3 separate regions of the Homo sapiens genome follow, and all the other regions are linked to region 3. Evidence: promoter capture Hi-C in human tissues and cell types (Jung and others, 2019). All regions are on one chromosome and are shown on one strand. The core of a region is centred on a gene start or on the middle of the fragment in contact, and the rest is flanking DNA. Distances in the headings are between cores, read along the strand shown. Region 1 overlaps TGM3 (transglutaminase 3). Region 2 holds the start of FKBP1A (FKBP prolyl isomerase 1A). Region 3 holds the start of SIRPA (signal regulatory protein alpha).

What was found. Contacts are between HindIII fragments. The study calls those that stand out against the background at their distance.
Region 1: a contact is called between a fragment that was not itself captured here and the fragment with the promoter of SIRPA in region 3, in 2 of the 25 tissues and cell types used here (mesendoderm cells and spleen).
Region 2: a contact is called between the fragment with the promoter of FKBP1A here and the fragment with the promoter of SIRPA in region 3, in 1 of the 25 tissues and cell types used here (hippocampus).

The regions. Positions count from the first base shown.
Region 1 is chr20:2,316,148-2,320,510 of GRCh38, reverse strand. TGM3 (transglutaminase 3) reads right to left here. Exons shown (of 13, transcript NM_003245.4): 6 at 3,266-3,443; 7 at 3,026-3,161. Among named protein-coding and RNA genes, the nearest start is that of TGM3, 22 kb to the right of the region's middle. The HindIII fragment of the contact is 3,003 bases long and covers 1-2,760 here.
Region 2 is chr20:1,391,562-1,395,869 of GRCh38, reverse strand. It overlaps FKBP1A (FKBP prolyl isomerase 1A), which reads left to right and starts at 2,816. Exons shown (of 5, transcript NM_000801.5): 1 at 2,816-2,908; 2 at 2,989-3,036. The coding sequence starts at 2,872. It overlaps FKBP1A-SDCBP2 (FKBP1A-SDCBP2 readthrough (NMD candidate)), which reads left to right and starts at 2,698. Exons shown (of 10, transcript NR_037661.1): 1 at 2,698-2,908; 2 at 2,989-3,036. It overlaps MIR6869 (microRNA 6869), which reads left to right and starts at 2,909; the gene lies at 2,909-2,970. RefSeq lists silencers at 2,760-2,809, 3,010-3,109, 3,120-3,189 and enhancers at 2,924-3,424, 4,216-4,308. The HindIII fragment of the contact is 6,579 bases long and covers 1-4,308 here.
Region 3 is chr20:1,893,372-1,897,194 of GRCh38, reverse strand. SIRPA (signal regulatory protein alpha) reads right to left here and starts at 1,788. Exons shown (of 8, transcript NM_001040023.2): 1 at 1,669-1,788. The coding sequence starts at 1,747. LOC102724545 (a long non-coding RNA gene) reads left to right here and starts at 2,945. Exons shown (of 4, transcript NR_186374.1): 1 at 2,945-3,076. RefSeq lists an enhancer at 628-1,143 and silencers at 2,435-2,554, 2,565-2,824. The HindIII fragment of the contact is 18,060 bases long and covers 1-3,823 here.

The DNA.
Region 1 (4,363 bases), core at 10-2,509, 420 kb before region 3:
AGCAAAGGCAAGGAACTTACATAATGTTATGCGCTTAGAATGTCTACATGTCTCCCGGTGTTTACCCTTAGACAAGTTACTTCTCTCGGGGCCTTTGTTTTCTCATCCATGAAAAATAAATTGGGGATGAAAATAACAATGCCTACGTCATTTGTGAAGATGAAATCTAAGCACTTATAACAGTACCTGGCACACAACAACTGCTCAACAAATTATTAGTTGCTGCTGTTACTATTACTAAGCACTTCTAATGCTTAATCTCCCTTGATTCTCACATTCTATTACTTTAGGCAAATCTGGGCACGGTTCTAAAGCTTTCAACACTTTTTGGTAACATACAAAGATTCATGTCAGAGGTTTTCTGTCCAAACTCCGGTTGCCCTTATAAGAATAGCTTAGTAATTTCACGCCAGGCAGAAACTGGCTCTTGGTTTAGCTCTCCCCTGCATGGGATTCAAGGAGGAAGGAACAGCAGGGCTCCCTTGGGAGGGCTAGCTCCCTTATAGAAAGTGGAGTGGGCTGAAGCTCCCGAGAATTTAAACATTTAAGCTGGCAAAGGACTTAAGAAATCATCTAGTCCTAGGCCAACCCTTATATTTCACATATGAAGAAACTTGGGACCAGGAGGATAAATTGCCTTGCGCAAGCCTCACAGCAATTGGGTGGTAGGGCTGGAGCTAGTGCTTGGGACTCCCTGTCCTCATGCCCTCCAGGGCTGGCTCCCCCAACCATCAGCTGTAGGGAATGGTGTAGGGAGTAACTATCAGCTCCCTTGGCTTTCTGAGAAGGTTCAGAAAAGGGGAGAGGAAGGGAGGGGTGACAAGATCCTCAGGAACAGTCAGAGCTTCTGCGCCTGGCCCCCTCCCATGAGGCCACAGAAATGACCACAGAGCCACCCTGGAATGTCTCCATCAGCTCCTACTTGTCCCAAAGGTGATGTTAAGCTGATGTGGGGGGCAGTGTGAATCACTAACCAGGAGACCTGGGTTCTAATTCTAAATTTAGCTTAAAAGCCTCACTTTCCTGTTTCCAGGACGCCTTCCTTGAGGATTTCCTCCGAGTTCCTGGTATCCCTGTCTCAGTCACTTGCCTGGGCATCACACACCATGCTGTGTTGCTAATTAGCCTCTACTAGTGGCCTCCCCACCCCGTGCCTCCTAACAGCACCATAAAAATGCTTTCAGTGGAGGAACTGAGACTTAAGCTTTCCACGTCCCTGCAGTTCCTAATGTACAGGATAATCACAGAAAGGGTATGCCGAGGGGACCCCCAACTTGTCTCACCAACCATCTCCTTTTGTAGAAGAAACTAAAGTTAGGAATGGCATAGCCCCAGTGATCAGAGCTGGTTGCGATGGGATTTTGGACACAAGAACAAAGAAAAGCCCAGGGAAAAGAAGACACTCATTCATGAGAAGTTGGAAAACAAAGTCTGGCCACAAGTAAGCAATATCATTAGAGAGAAAGTTGTGTATGTGCAGATCAAGAAAGAAACTCCTTAAATAAGCTTTCTCTCCCCTAGTAAAACCCCAGAATCCATTGACTCTGGGGTGAGTTACATAAACCTCACTCTCCTTCAGAAGGGAAGGGATGCTTTTATTACTCAACTCGGTTGCTGGCATGGAGTTGTTATTTATTTGTTTTAACAGTGTTTTCCATTATTATCTATTTTCGTTTCATTTTATACCCTTAGTTACATTAAGCACATTTCAGATAAGTTAGATATACTTATTCTGGGAATGATAAGTAATACAAACATTTTATGTAGACTATCTCAAAATTGAACATCTGAAAATAAGATTACATCTGTCATACGATTATCTAGCCACATACATGCATGTGAGCAATTATGTGTGTGTGTAGCCTTTGAAATGGATTAAAACAATAGATAGATGGGTACTTTATATAGATACATAGATATCTCTGTGTATCTACAGATATAGACATCATTGCCAATTGCCATCCGGTAATAACTTGGTATATGATATAACCTTAAACAGTTGTAACAATGTCTATTTTTATCTATATAATATCTATCTATCTAGTGCTCTATGCAGTTACAGATATATGTCTACACATTTCCTACTTCCAGTGGCATCTATCATTAAATTACGTGTGTGTGTGTATTGATAGTGTGCACATGGCATACTTATGGTTAGGAATATAAATGCCCAAATATATATAAAACATTTTGGCCGGGTGCAGTGGCTTACGCCTGTAATCCCAGCACTTTGGGAAGCTGAGGCAGGTGGATGGCCTGAGGTCAGGAGTTCAAGACCAGCCTGACCAACATGGTGAAAGCCTGTCTCTACTAAAATACAAAAATTAGCCGGGCATGGTGGTGCATGCCTGTAATCTCAGCTACTTGGGAGGCTGAGGCAGGAGAATCACTTGAACCTGGGAGCCTGAGGTTGCAGTGAGCCAAGATTGTACCATTGCACTCCAGCCTGGGCAACAAGAATGAAACTCCATCTCAAAAAAATAATTGTTTTCATCCGGAATCCAGAATAAACTCTGAACTTTTGATGTCAACCAAGGTATACAATAGGTGTATATATATATATATATGATATATATATATATATATATGCTAAGAGAAGATGTGTTGCTTTTCTTATTCTCTTTAAGAAAGTTTGTAAGTCATATGGATTACTTGAAATGAAACAAATGTATATTTCTTGCTGGAAAAGCAATAGTTTCAACTTGTATATTCTATAGTAGTATAAGGTCCAATGGATCCCATAAATTCAGAGTGAATTTAGGAGCCCTGTCTTTCACTGGGATCAGATCCTTTGTCTGACGGCAGCAAGATAGACCAGACTAGCAGACCGCAGAGCACCGAGAAGAGGTGTCTTGGGTGCTGCTAAGTGTGTAATCAGCATTGCCAGCAGTTCCATTCTACACCCTGTGATGACATGTTACTTGCCTTGCAACACCTGTTTGGACCTGGGTCCCAGAAGGATGGTGAGAGCGAGAAGCCACTCAAATGTGGTGCTCGAAGTTCAGGGAAAAGGTGAGATACTTACCATACGCTATCACTACCCTTGTCCAGGGGGTTTCCCATGGGGTCGTAGTACACATCCACACTGAGATTTCGGTCTGTGTCATGAGCTGAGTTGAAGTTGGTGATCACCCGGGAAGGAATCCCCAAAGACCGCAGCGCTGCAAGTCAGGGTGGGCGTGAGGACTCAGGTGGTGGAGATGGTACCTTGGCATAGCCCACTGCCACCCACTGACCCAGCCAAGGCACACCACACCCAAGGTACCTGTGTTGAGGGTCCCAGCAAAGACCCAGCACTGGCCATATCGGACTGGGCTGAAGCCAGATTTTTTCCAATTTTTGAGGATCTCCACGCTGCCGTTCCAGCTCCTTGGGTCCCGGCCACCGGTGTAAGTGCCGCTCCAATTCCCAGCAAGCACACCATTGTCATCATTGCTATTGATCTGGGCAGAAACCACCCCCCCAAAATGAGTCAGCACTAATGCCTTTCCTAGGGAGACTGACATGCAGAATTCAGAGGACAAGGTGGGGAGATGAGGAAGGAAGCCAAAGGCCATGATTGAACTTTTCTTTGTCTTTCTAGGTGACTTGGGGATGATCATTGTAACACTTAACCCTTAGGGGTATGGAGTGGTTTACGAGTTTAGAGGTGCTTTCCCAAACAGGCCATGTTTGATTGTCCTTGATCCATACGTCATTCCTGTGCAGCAGCCTGACATGGGAAACAGACAGCACAGCTTGTGCTGTGGCAAGGCAGGGCACAACTCCAGCTTGCAGAGGACTTCTGGCAGGTAAGAATCCACAGGCTATCACTGCTGTCACAGTCTGCCTGGGAGTCCATGGTTTGAAACTCTTTTTTGGTGTATGGTCTTACGAAAAGATCACTTTATTTATTTTATTTATTTTTATTTTATTTATTTATTATTATTTATTATTATTATTATTTTCTGATACAGAGTCTCTCTCTGTCGCCCTGGCTGGAGTGCAGTGGCGTGATCTTGGCTCACTGCAAGCTTCGCCTCCTGGATTCAAGCAATTCTCCTGGCTCAGCCTCCTGAGTAACTGGTGTTAATGCGTGCCACCATGCCCGGCTAGCTTTTGTATTTTTAATAGAGACGGGGTTTCACCATGTTGCTTAGGCTGACCTCAAGTGATCTGCCCACATCAGCTCCCAAAGTGCTGGGATTACAGGTGTGAGCCACCACACCCGGCCAAAAAGATCACTTTAGAACTTTAGCAACTAACTTCTTCTTGGAAAGAATAAAGATAGAGTATTTCTTTTCTTTCATTCATTCAGCTATTTGTTCATTTGTTAGTTTACTCATTCATTTATTCAATTTAAGGTTCTAATCTAAGTGACACA
Region 2 (4,308 bases), core at 1,567-4,066, 500 kb after region 3:
AAGCCTTATTCTGCTAGGCTTCAGGGAAAACGGAATCCAGGAACTCTCTCGCCCCTGGTTGCTCTCATTCTCCATCATTTATTCTCGCTGCAGTCTGATTTTCTCTAGGTGGTGTGAAGCAGTGTCCTGGCGACTGCTGGGGCCCTCTTTTTAATTTCATCTTTCGATCTCCATTCTTCCATTCTATGAGCACAGAACCTCTGATTTTAGTTGGGTGTGTGTACACCCAGAATGAAGACTTTATTCCCTAGCCTCCCATGCAGCTAAATTTGACCATATAACTAAGTTATAGTCAATGTGAAGTATAACGGGAAGAGATGTGTGCAATTCTAAGTCGTACCCTTAAAGGAAAAGGGAATGTACCCCCCATTCCTCCTTTCCCCCTTCCCACTAGCTGAGATGAAAATATGTTGGAGAGCCAACTTGGACCATGCATATGAGGGTAGGATTCTAAGGATGGGGAGCCACAAGTAGAAGAAGGATGAGTCCCTGGGCAGCCTGTGAAGTCCTACCTGCACTGAACCACCTGCCTCTGAACTGTTACATGAGAGAGACAGCAACTTCAGCCTCTTTTCAGCCACAGTTAATTTGGTTCTGTTACAGCCTGTATTCTTACTACATTAAAATTTCCAAAGCAGTCACGAGCTCACTGAGATTTTAGGAAAGGGGACATAGATGAGGGTTGGGGTGTCAAAAAACTGTGAGGTCATGTTTAAAACACTACAGGAGCTGGTATGGTTTAGTTCTGTGTCCCCACCCAAATCTTATCTTGAATTGTAATCCCTATAATCCTGAGGTCAAGGGAGGGACCCGGTGGGAGGTGATTGGATGGTGGGGGTGGTTTCCCCCATGCTGTTCTCATGGTAGTGAGTGCATTCTCATGAGAAATGATGGTTTTATAGGTGTTTGACAGTTCCTCTTCACATACTCTCTCTCATGCCTGCTGCTGTGTAAGATATGCCTGCTTCCCCTTCTGCCATGATTGTAAGTTTCCTGAGGATTCCCAGCCATGCAGAACTGTGAGTCAATTAAACCTCTTTCCTCCATAAATTACCCAGTCTCAGGAATTTTTTTTTTTTTTTTTTTTTTTTGAGACTGGTTCTCACTCTGTCACCCAGGCTGGAATGCAGAGGTGCAATCTTGGCTCACTACAACCTCCGCCTCCTGGTTTAAGCAATTCTTATGCCTCAGCCTCTCAAGTGGCTGGGATTACAAGCCTGTGCCACCATGCCTGGCTAATTTTTTTGTATTTTTAGTAGAAACTGGGTTTCACCATGTTGGCCAGGCTGGTCTTGAACGCCTGGCCTCAAGTGATCTGCCCGCCTCAGCTTCCCAAAGTGCTGGGATTACAGGCATGAGCCACCGTGCCCAGCCTCAGGTATTCTTTATAGCAGTGTGAGAATCGACTAATGCAGAAGCACACACACACACAGATCAGAGAAAGATTAGTCACATGTGCCTCCTTATGTCCTAGACCATGTCACAGTGTTCTCTTGCGTTACAGTGCCTCTGCAGGTACTGCTCCTTCTGCCTCCCCTTACCCCAACACATACACACAATTGGCCTTCTAACCTTGGCTAAACCTGGCTAAACCTGGCTAACTCAGGGAAATATCTGACCACATTCCAGACTAAGTGAGGCATCTCTGTTATATTAACACGCCCCTCACAGCATGTATTACTGTCTCATAATATTACAGATTTGAAACTTTACATTTATTCCGTATCTTTTTTTACTTAAACAGGTTATTTGATTATCTCTCCCACATCATACGTAGATTCTGTGAGGTCAGGGACTAAGTCTGACTCCTTCACCGCTGTATCCTCAGCACCTAGCACAGTACATGACATACAGAAGGTGCTTGTCAAAGTCAAAATAAAATATGGAGATGAATCTCTAAATGTAATGTTTTATTTGGGGAAGCGAGAATCGCAACTCGGAGCATACACACAGATCTGGTGGTCTTTGGTATGTCCGAAAAACAAAGAGAAGGCTGGGCGTTTTATTAGAAAGGGAAATGCATTGGCACTAGTAAAGTTTCAGGGAGCTGGCAAGCTCTGATTGGTGACTGACAGTGGTAAGTAAAACTAGTATTAGGTTATGGCGGGTTGTTTCAGCAGTTACTAGCTGAATCTGGTCTCAGGGGGACAGCAGGCCATTTCCGCAGCAGTTAGTGGAAATATTGGTTCTTGGAGCAGGCGCTGCGTGCCTCCAGTGCTTTTCCCCTGGCCCCTGGATTCTGATTCCGTTGGGCATAAGAAGAGTGACCCAATTCGTATTATCAACTTTCACATGCTCAATAAGAATGTATGCATGTAAGCTATGGGTGAGTGAATGAATTTGGACAACTCCTCCTCCAGTGAAGAAAAGCAGAACTTACAACCTTGAGCCACTTATAAAATACTAACATACTACCACCACCTGTGCGCTGTCTTCTCAGAACCATGCTCTTCCCAGGATGAGTAACTGTGTGCTTCTAAGTGGAAACCTGATGACAGTCACCCAGTCAGTGACTGGCGGACCCCCTATTATTACTCCCATTCTTTGGGCAGGGAGATGCTTAACCGGCTGGAAGCACAGAGGAAGGGCAGGAGAACGAAGCAAGTCACCCGGCAAACACAGCTGTATCCGGAGGCCTCCGGGCTTCCGGAGGTCTCGGGGCTTCTGGGCTTCCGGTCCCTCTTCCGGAGGCCTGGGTTTCCGGGACGTCGCGCGCCGTGTGGGGCGCGCACGCAGGGCTGGGCGTGAGGGGGCGTGCGCGTGCGCAGGCGACGCGCCGAGGTACTAGGCAGAGCCGTGGAACCGCCGCCAGGTCGCTGTTGGTCCACGCCGCCCGTCGCGCCGCCCGCCCGCTCAGCGTCCGCCGCCGCCATGGGAGTGCAGGTGGAAACCATCTCCCCAGGAGACGGTGAGTAGTGGCGCGCGGCGGCTCGGAGTACCTCTGCCGCCGCGCGCATCGGCTCAGCATGCCCGTCTCTGTCTCCTCAGGGCGCACCTTCCCCAAGCGCGGCCAGACCTGCGTGGTGCACTACACCGGTGAGTCGGGGGCCCAGCGGGGAGGGGGCCCGGGCCGCAGTCCGCAGCCCGGGTGCGGCTGGCCGTCGAGGCCTGGGGGCCCGGGGCCTGGGGTCCGGGGCGTGGCGGCGGCGAGGTCCGCATGGCCCGAGGCTGAGGCCTGGGCGGTGGCTCAGGGGCAGCCTGGGGCTTGCGGAACCCGGGCGGGTCTGAATCGGCGGCTGTGAGCGTCGGCTGCGGGCTAGGTGTTATCTGACCCGTCAGAAGCATTTCTGCACCTTAGATGCTGCCCTTATGCCCGCTGCACAGATGAGGAAACTGAGGCTTGGCGAGGCGAAGTCACTTTCCCAAGGTCTCACTTTCCCAAGGTCACACTTTCAGGAATGGGCAGAGCTCTGGCCAGGGACCATTAGGAAGGATTTGTACCATTTCTGTGCCCCTGCCCCCACTTCCATCCCTCCCTTCACTGGAGATGAGGACGAGGTAATTCCGAGTCTGCAGAGCTGCTGCTTCCTCCGGGGAACTCGGAATTCGCCCCTTTGCCTAGGGTGGGGAAACATCCCACTTCCTAAGTCATTGCTTTGGCCCTTCCTGGCCTTGGGGGAAGTAGAGCTGCACGGCCTTCTTCCGTCTTTTTACTTTTGAGCCACTTACAAATCCAAGGCTCAGTGACAGCGCTGGCTCAGGCTGACCGAAAGCTGCACGTGTAATTTAGTCCCCCAGCTCTTCTAGAAGTAGAGACTTTTCTCGTCCTCATTTTAAAGATAAGCATCTGGAGGCTAATACATAGTGATAATACAAGCCAAAGGAAATTTTAGACACCTCCCCCTCCCCAGCCAGAATTCAGACATCAGAGTCGTGTGCCTTGGGGCTGTCTTACTCCTTCTCCTTACAAGCTTGTCCTGGTTTGTATGGGGGCGGGGGAGGGGGAGAGCTGAGTTGGCGGAGACTCAGTGGCTGTGGGTCCCACAAGGGTGGCAGTGATTGGTGTAGCCACAGTTGTTGATACGAATAACCTTCCCTCCCCCTCCTCCTTCCCCTTTCTCAACCTTCCCACCCTTTCCTCTGTTCCCCCTCCTCCTCCCTCTTTTTTTCCCACTCCCTCTCCTCCTCTTCCTCCTCCTGGGTAGTAGGCTGTGGGCAGTTCTGGCCAAGTTGCTCACGAATAAGCTCCACCTTTCTCTTCCAAATCATGGAAACATGGAGGGATCCCTCTATTGAGGGAAATGACTTTCACTGGAAAGAGGAAAAGGCAACTAACATCCCCCCTCCCATGCCCTTTTATTTCTGTGG
Region 3 (3,823 bases), core at 539-3,038:
GCAAAAGGGGGAGATGTGCTCACAAGAAAGGTGTTGGTGTTCCCAGCCGGTGCCCCAGGAAAGGCAGGCTGCCCATCGGAGCACTTGCTAATCAGCGTCACTGCTCGTTTGCCAGGGACTGAACCACAGCCTCCTGGTCGGAGAAGGGTCTGGAATAGACATTTAGAAATTAACTCGGGCCCAATTCCCTGCTTCAGGAAAATTAAGCACTTGTGAGTGACACTTGTGCATTTCCAGGCCAGGAAGGATGGCAGGGCAGGAACTCGGACTTTTGCAGGGTACAAATGGCCAGCTCAGGCAGGAAGGAGCAGATAGGAGATGCCACTCACTGGAGAGACGTGAACTGTATCAGTGCTCCCTTCAGCCCAGCAAGGACGCAACTATAACTGAAAAGAACTGGGGGTGGAGGGTGGGGTGGGGTGGGGGGATGCCTATGTGAATTCCTGGGTTTCAGGGGAAACTGCAGGGCAGAGAGAAGCAGCTGTCTACCCCCCATACTTCTCCTTCCACCCACTCTTTGCTAGTTCTCCCTTTCTCCCTGCTATCAGATGGTTACCATCTCTAGTCAAACGCAAAAGGGGGTGTTGGACACTGAGCTCATCTTTACCTCCCTCCTCAAGGGTGGGAGGTACAGAGAGACCCCACTGCCTACAACACAGTTTCAAGACGACAAAAAACAAGATCCCCATTTTTCTCTCCCTCCCAACTCCCTTAATGCCATTTCTCTGCTCCCCCCGCCCCCCACCCGGTGCCCTCCCAGGAGACCCATGGTTTTGCAAAACCCATTTAAGAAGCAAGACTCCTGAATGGTGACCTCACCCTTTGGTGAACATGCACAGTAGCCTTCAGAGCCCGCCTGCCGGCGACAGCCAGGTGTTTGATGTAGGCCAACAGAAAGACATGGTCAGAGCCACAGGTAACATCCCCGCGGAGCACCTGAACTGCAGGGAGCTGCCTGGAAGCTCGGGGAAGGCAGGAGGAAGGGGGAGCTGGGAGCGCCTCAAGGAGCAAGACCACCAGGGAGAGGCTTTGGCAACCACAGGGACAATCCACCGTGTTTTTACATAAGGATCTGTTGCTCGCAGCAGCTCGCTCTGGGGTTACCGCGGCCTCCCGGCTCCCTCTCTCCCAGGCACACACTAACACCGGTTTACTCTGCGCACCAGAGGGAGGGCTCACTCTTCCCTAATTGCAACAGCTTGTCTCTGTTCCATTCCAGGCAGCATCGGGAGGACCTCTGCCCTCACCTCCTCCCCTCACACCCTGAAGTCAAACATGTGGAAAGTCGTATGTCCATGGGGACAGATTCTGGGGAAGCCGGACGGCCCTGCTCTGAAAGCCACTGTCAGTCAGCCTTCCCCATTGGACCGGGCAGGGGCTGAGTGAAGCAACTCGGCTCTTTTGTCTCAGTGCCCAGCACAGTGCACAGAGTCAGAGTCCACAGAGACAAACTCTCATAGAAGAGACTTGGGTTCTACCCTTGGCTGTGTGACCTTGGGCATGTCGCTGGCCCTCTCTGGGCCTCAGTTTCTGCATCTATAACCCTGGTTACAGGCGTCTCTCCCCCTATTACTGCTCGGCATTAGCCGAAGGGGTCCCAGTGCCAGTCTGAGAGGCCTGAGCCCGCAGTTTGGGGAGTGCAGCGGTGGGGAGCGGGGGGGTGCTTACCTGACCAGGCGCAGGACGCGGCGAGCAGCAGGCAGAGCAGCGGCCCGAGGCGGCCGGGGGCCGGGCCGGCGGGCTCCATGGGCCGCGGCTGCGGAGCGAGGAGGGAGAGCGGCCGTGAGTGCGCGCTCGGGCGGGAGCAGGCTGGAGCGGGGAAATGACTAAGGCTCCCCCCCTTCCCCCCTCCCGGCTGGGCCTCCCCCCGACTCCGGAACGGGCGCCTGGAGCGGCCGCCGCCGCCGCCGCGGTTTTTGGAGACCCCCCCTCCCCGCCCCCCAGGAGAAATGGAGAGACGGAGACTGGGAGAGACCCCAAGCGCGCGAGAAATAAAGCCAGGGGCGGCCAGAGAGAGGCGGCAGGAGAGAGAAACAGACCCAAGGGAGCCAGGCAGAGAGCCAGAGACACGGAGAGGCGAGAGGGGGAGAAAGAGGGGGAGAGCGAGGAGCGAGGAGCGAGGCGGCGCGCAGACCGACAGACCGCGCGGGAGAGAGGACCGCGCGAGCAGGGGCGAGGGGCAGCACGGCCGAGCCCGGCCGCGCGGAGCCGCCCCCGCCGCTGCCCACCTGCCCCGCCCGGGCTCCACACGGCGCGGGCGGCTGGGCTCGCTCCCGGCCCGCAGTCCCGGCCGCTGCCCCCGCCCTCCCGGCAGCCCGACCCCCTCCCTCCTTCCCTTTCCCCTCCTCCCGTCTTCCCGCCGCCCGGGGAGGCTTCGGGGCTCCGGCCCCGCCGGCACCTTCTCTGCGAGCGAGCGCCCGCCTGCGCGCCCCGGGGGAGGGAGCGAGGGCTGCGAGCTGCGCGCCCGGCCGGGGAGGGCAGCGTCCTCCCCCGCGCCGGCGCCCGGGCCCCGGCTGCTGTCCCGGGAAGGCGGCCCCGCGAGCCGCCGCGGCCCGCTGGGGCTCGGGACTAGACGAGCCTCCGGCTCCGACAGCGTGCCCGTTCAGAAGCCCGCGCGGCTGGTCCCCAGCCCCGACCGGTCCCGCTCTGCCCCTCCCCGTCCCTGCCGGGCCCGGACCTGCGCCGCCCGCGAGGGCTGGAAGGCACTGGAAGCGCCGCCGGGGCTGCCCAGAGGCCGGGTCCCCGCTCCACTTTGCGCAAACTTGTTTTTCTAAGGTCAGCGCTGCGAGCTGGCTACATCGTCCTCTTAAGGTGGACCGGGGAAGTTGCGGCCGACCTCCCCTCGCCTCCGGACTCCGGCCGCGCGGCTGCTCCCCGCTTCCCACTGGCGAGAGGCTGGAGGCGGCGAAGGAGTCGGGGCGCGGGGGCGCGGGGGGCGGGGGGGCGTCTGCCTTTTAACCCTCCCCAGGAGGTCGTGCCTCTGAGCCCCAAAGCTGAAGGCCCCTCTTGGGGGTGGGTGCGGGCCGGAGGGGCCCGATCCTTTCAGAGCCGGGCCGAGGTGAAGGAAAAGAAGGAAGTAAGTGAACGCAGGGGGAAGGGGAGAGGAAGAAGAGATGATGGTACAAAAATAGCGTGTGTGTAGGAAGGACTTCGGTGCCGCCTGGAAAAGAGGCGCGGGGAGGAGAGGGAGCGAGAAGGGGGCTGTGGCGCGCAACCAGAGGGGAAGGGTCGGGGCCTTCCCAGGGAGGTGGAGGCCCCCTGGCCAGGTGTCTCGGTGGTGGAGGGCGGACTGGGCGGGTGGGAGGCCCAGGCCGGGGCGTGTGTGGGAGAGCGGGGCCCTGAAGGCCTGGGTTCCGGGAGAAGGACAAGCCCTGAGGAAGATGAGGGGAAGGGGAGCCGGGGCCAGAGGCCTGGAGTTGGAGAGGACAGAACCCCGGTTTTCCCGGAGGGAACGCCGTTCCTGTAGTAGCCAGGTCAGTGATGGGGAGTGCCAGTGTCGTGGTCACCTGGCAGAAGGCTCCGCACTGTGGGAGGAACACAAGTTCAAGACCCCGCTGCTAATGGGAGAGAATTTTGGTTCACACAGTGGCGGTTAAGAGGACAGGAATGACACAAGGTGAGAGAAGGCCCAACCCTGTAAATGGACAGAAAGTTGAGGCCCGGAGAGGGAATAGGTTTGCTTAAGGCCACACAGCAAAGCTTGGGGTAGAAACAAGATTTGAATTCCTGATTCCCAGGTTAAAGACCTGTGCAAAGTAACACCACTGCCTCCCCTCCTGCCCCGAGCCTCCTGGTGAAGGCATGGCCCTGCTGTTGTGCAGGG